Regions from separate parts of the Homo sapiens genome. Here region 2 is linked to region 1. Evidence: promoter capture Hi-C in 16 types of primary human blood cells and fetal thymus (Javierre and others, 2016). All regions are on one chromosome and are shown on one strand. The core of a region is centred on a gene start or on the middle of the fragment in contact, and the rest is flanking DNA. Distances in the headings are between cores, read along the strand shown.

Region 1 (2,700 bases), core at 69-2,568:
CACACTACACTTATTTCAGCCAAGGACTGAAACTGGAGCCTGCCACAAGCATCTTCTAGAACAGCTCCAACAGAAGGATCCAGGAGATGGGCCACCAGCAAGTCATAGTGGAGTCCAAACAAGTGTGAAGTGAGAGCGAGTCTTCAGCATGGGAATGGCCGAGTGGGTCGTGGTGACCAGCTGCCTTCCTCTGACTGTTAAGTACAGCAGTCTCAACAGTAACAATGACCAGGCCTTCCCTTTATTTAGTTCCACCTCGGGGCATTGGCGCATTAAGAATGTCCCTCTAAAGGCATATGTAAGATAAAGCACACTTCGCACTTTAACCAGTGACTAAGGGAGATCAAAAGCAGGGGACAATACCCACCCGGAATTTGCGACCTCGCGAAAACGCTCTCACCAATCCCGCAGGTAAGTGCGGCGCTGGCCCAGGTGTGCCCAGCTCGACTCGCGTCCACCTGGGACCAAGCGGGCCCAAGAAGGCCCGGAGAGCAGGCGAGGGCGACTGTGGCCGGCGCGCCCCCCGCAGTTCCAGGCGGTGGCAGGAGCCTGAGAGCCGCCGTCCCAGGCTGGCCAGGCGCCCGCCCGCCCTGCGCGCACTCCCTGGGCTCCCGCTCCCGAGGCTGGGCAGAACTCGCAGAGGAAGACAAGGGCAGAAAGCGGGTGGAGGGAGGCAGCGCTCGCCCGTCCGGGCACACGACACTTGTCGGCTGAGGGGGACACGCGGGCAGACGGGGGCGTTAGCCCCAGAGGAAACAAAAGCCAAATGCCCACCGCCGGGCGCTCGATGGCCGGAGGACTGCCTGGGGGCCCTCAGGAGTCCCGTCCCGTCCCGCTCCCCCGGTCCCAGGCTGCGCTGGCTCCAGGGCGCCCAGGTAGCCGCGCCTGGCACCCCGACCCTGCCCTCGCGGCTGACCGAGGCGCCGGGCTCTGCGGCGGCCGCGCCCGTCCAAAGTAGGCGACAAGTGAGGCAGCGCCTCTCGCGGGGAGCCCGGCGCGCGCCCCGGCGGCGAAAGAGAAAGAGAAAGAGCCTGGGCCGGGACCGGGGCTATCCCCAACCGCCACCGCCCCCACCGGCCCGGCCCTCGCCGCGGGAGTCGTGCAGGCCCCTCTACCTGCCCGGGGATGGGGCCACCCCGCGCGGCGGCGGCCGTGGGCACCCACGCGGGCTCGCGACCATCCCACGCGGGCGGCGGCGTCCTTCTTACCCCCAGCGGAGCGGCGCCTGCCCGCAACGCCGACCGAGCTACAGGCGGGGGGCGAGTCGGAGCGCGAGGTTCCGCCAGCCCAGGCTGCGGCGCCGCTGCCCCGCGGTGCCCGGCGGGAGGGGCGCGAGGGTGCACGCGCGGGGTGGGGGCGCGGGAGCCGCCCCCTGCCCGCCCCGCGCGCATGCTCCCGCCGCACCTGCCTCGCTCAGTGTTCCACACCCCGGGGAGCCGGGTGGCGCTGGGCCCGCCGAGGTCGGGGCTTTCCCATGGGAGGGAGGTGGCTGCGGCGGAATTTTCAGATGCGTCCTTCTCTGTATTCGTTCCCTGGGAAGGATTCCCCCAAATCTTGGCTACTTCCTGCCTGCCAGCTTGCTCCCTGGCAGCGAAGTCCCAGTAGCTCACCCATGCTTCATCCCAGCTCTTGGGGTTCACCGTCTGAAGGCTCTCTCCTCCGGATCCCTCTCGGTCCTGCTGCTCGCTCCGATTTTGCAACCTCCCCCACTCCCCTTTCCTGCTCTTGACTTTGCTACTCACGAGTACCTGGATACCATTTCCAAATAAAAGAATACTCTTTCCAAGTGGCAAGCAGTGTTTACTGACCCTGTTCTAACTGCTTGGAATTGAGCAGGAAACAGGAGCTGGGTAGATCCTGCCCTCATGGAACTTATGGCCTTACTGGCTAGCTTTGGCCTTTCTCAAAGCATTGTCTCCCAGTTTGGGAGGACTGTATTAAATCATTTATTTTGGCTTACAAATAAAGGTAGCTGATAATTGAAGACTATATGTTGTGACTTTTGAATGAAATGTTCTTTCATAGGACGCCTTGTGTATAAACCCTAGTATGCAAATAATAAATAGTAGGTACTAAATAAGTATTAGTTTGTTGCTTTCAGCAGGAAATTGAATCATTTAGCAGGATTAACAATGATACCATCCAAAATGATCTTTTTGGTTTGTCGTGGGCTACCATAAACAGAGAATGAAAACTTGCTTTTTAGGTGAGACTGGGCATTGTTGAAACATAATTTCGTGTCCTTACTGAAAAGAGAAATATAAACCCCTTTGCTAATGAAGTTTTTAAACTAGGAACAATGATCATAGAAATTTGTAAGTGCAAACACACGATTTGTGTTCTGTGCTCTAGTCAGTTAAGAAAAATATATTAGCCAGGTATGGCGGCTCACATCTGTAATCCCAGCACTTTGGGAGGCCGAAGAGGGCGGATCACTTGAGGTCAGGAGTTCGAGACCAGCCTGGCCAACATGGTGAAACCCTGTCTCTACTAAAAATACGAAATTAGCTGGGTGTGGTGGCGGGCGCCTGTAATCTCAACTACTCGGGAGGCTGAGACACTAGAATCGCTTGAACCTGGGAGGCAGAGGCTCCAGTGAGCTGAGATAGTACCACTGCACTCCAGCCTGGGCAACAGAGCGAAACTCCAACTCAAAAAAAAAAAAAAGAAGAAGAAAAAGAAAAACAAAAAGAAAAAGAT
Region 2 (2,700 bases), core at 157-2,656, 500 kb before region 1:
CCAAGCTCTCCCACAGACAATGGCCTCCACCTTCTCCTTTTGTTATCTAACCCCCAAGCGACTCAAGGGATCTGAATTTCAGAGTGAGTAGTGGTGGGGTCAGGCTGGTGGGGAACCTATTTGAAATGTTTGCACCGGCTTCCTGCCCAATGGGTCGAAAGAGCTATTTGAATTTTGTGGCAAAAAAAATTCTGTATGCCTAAAAGATGCCAGATGGAGAAGGAAGTGGTGTGTTTAGCCACAGGAGAGATACTGCATGGATAATAGGTTCTCTACCCGCTTTTTGTCAACGTCAACATCAGCTTGTCAGTCTGTTAGGTCGATCATATGTAAGAATAATTCTCAGCATTCATCAACTGCTGAGACCTTCCCAAACCTAATTTTATTCTCAAGACAAACCTGTCAATGAGGTTTTATTGATTGTTTCCATCATACACATGGAGAAATGGAGGCAGAGGTTTAGAGAGAAAAACATGAGTCAGAGTGGGAAGGGAATTAACCCAGGGGACAGTCTCTATAGTTCTTCCCTCTGAGTTTGCTACAAAAATATTATTTATAAATCATTTGAAATGGTGATAACACTGAGCCCGCCAATTCAATCAAGAAACAGCCTCTATGTTGTAGCTCCATTTATTTTTCACTGGCCAGAGGTAGTGCTGAGGTAACAATTGTAAAGGTGAGAAGTCACAACTTCTATTACGGATATCTAGGGATACCTACTGAGGACGACTTGCCTGAGAGCTTATGCTCCCAGCATTGGTGAGAAGTGCTTTCTCCTTGCTGGCTTTGAGCCACTTCCCAGAGGAGTTCCTGCTCCTCTGTTTAGAAATTGCAGAGTGGGTGTGGGCGTGCCATGTTTCTTAAGTTGCCTAAGACCCAAAAGGTTATTTTTAAAAATGTAAATATACACCCAAACTCATTGAAATAATGGTAATGGGAAGATTGAGCTGAAGACCGTGATTGAGAAATGCACGTTACCATGGTAATAACAGGGTGGGCAAGGCTAACTCTGGCCCTTCCACATTTATTTTAAACCAGTAGTTCTCAAATAGTAGCGTGCATCGGAATACCCTAGAGGGCTTGTTAAGAAACAAGTTACCAGCCCCACCCCCAGACTTTCTAATTTAGTAGATCTGGAGTGGGCCTTATAATTTGCATTTCTAACCAGTTCCCAGGTCTAGCCCTAGGGCCAAATCCATGTTTTCACCTGTTTTTGTAAGGTCTGCAAATTAGTAATAGTTTTTACAGATGAACCTTTGCAAATGATTCCATGATAGGCAACACTAATTTTGAACCCCAATTAAGCAAAATTCTGTCCCCCCTCACAATTACATTCTTTTCATTAGTAGACCTGCATTACACAAAAATTGTACCCAATATTACAGTTTGAATTTCATCAATGAAAACTTAGTGGAATTTTGTTTTTCTCCCTTGTTATATAATAACTACCCAGATAAGATGCTCAATTTTGTTTCTTGGCCCACAAAGCCTAAAGTATTTATTCTCTAGACTGTTAAAGAAAAAATTGCAGACCCCTGGCTTAACTGATGCTGCTGATGTGGGGATGACTTTGAGAACCACGTAAGCCATTTGCTAAGCTAAGTGTAGTAAACCCTCCTTCCACTGATTTAATACAATTCCACGGGCCCAACTGTCCTGGACTATCACACAATGCCGAGAGAGAGGCACCACCCCTCAACCTACAATGTTCCCCTCCAGGGAGCGAAGCTGCGGAGTCTAAAAACGTGAGGCAGTGGCTCAGCGTAGAGAAAGGATATTCCAAAACATCTAATGGGCACAACTGTAAGGGAAGTAACATTTGTTTTGGGTGTTGTCCCACCTCTCATTCTAAGCTGTTCCCATCCCAGATGCTGGGGACTCTGGGGATTCTCTGACTCTGCAATGTCCCCAACTCCTGCTCTCCAGTCAGACCTGCACCATTGCATCTGCAGCTAGCTCTGCAGTCATGCCCCAAGTAAATGCTGGTTAAGTAATCTGATTATAATCTTAGAATTTATAAGTCTGTGATTTATATCAAATATTCATGGTGTATATGACAGCTTCCTTTGTCATATGATATAGAAATATCTGTTACATTATATAGAAATTAGTGCACTGAAAAAAGTTTACTTTTTAAAAAATCTTGACTATTTTTGTCCCCACTCTTTAATTCTGCTGTCATTAGGAGATTCTCATATTTAAAAGTGCTCAAAGCAAGGTATTCTGTTGTAGCCTGTCTTGAAGGAGTACCACCTGTCTTCAGCCTGCTAATGAAAATTGGAATTCTCTGAGGAAAGCTCTGTCATCTAGAATCTTCTGACCAGTGGATGAGTCAGCTCAGGGCCTCTTCTCTGCATCTTCCTTGGACTCGGACTGTGGGAAGCCCTGTGGAAAGCAGGATGATCTAACAGCAGGATAAAGATTGTTTTTGTTATCATGTCCCATGGCTAAAAATTACCCACTGCTTTTCCTTCTTAAACTGGGATCCTCAACTTGGAATCTCTGGCTATTAATAAAGTCTGGAGAGAGCAATAGAGTGCATTGGTTAGGACCTCAAGCATCAGCAGACCTAAATCTGAGTTATCACTTTATCACTAACTGTGAGAGCTTGGACACAATGCTTGCCATCTCTTCACACCATCCACTCACATGTGCAATGGTGTAAAAATCACAACTACTCAGAGGTAGTTGTAAGGATGA

Evidence for each region. Contacts are between HindIII fragments. The CHiCAGO score rates a contact against its expected background, and 5 or more counts as called.
Region 2: a contact is called between a fragment that was not itself captured here and the fragment with the promoter of L3MBTL4 in region 1, in 2 of 17 cell types (M2 macrophages and M0 macrophages). The highest score is 6.0, in M2 macrophages.

The regions. Positions count from the first base shown.
Region 1 is chr18:6,413,593-6,416,292 of GRCh38, forward strand. L3MBTL4 (L3MBTL histone methyl-lysine binding protein 4) reads right to left here and starts at 1,319. Exons shown (of 19, transcript NM_001330559.2): 1 at 1,209-1,319. RefSeq lists a silencer at 822-1,361. The HindIII fragment of the contact is 5,527 bases long and covers 1-2,700 here.
Region 2 is chr18:5,911,876-5,914,575 of GRCh38, forward strand. MIR3976HG (MIR3976 host gene) reads left to right here. Exons shown (of 10, transcript NR_172496.1): 10 at 2,233-2,532. All of the region lies in intron 1 of LOC121725015 (a long non-coding RNA gene), which reads left to right. Among named protein-coding and RNA genes, the nearest start is that of TMEM200C, 18 kb to the left of the region's middle. The HindIII fragment of the contact is 4,191 bases long and covers 1-2,700 here.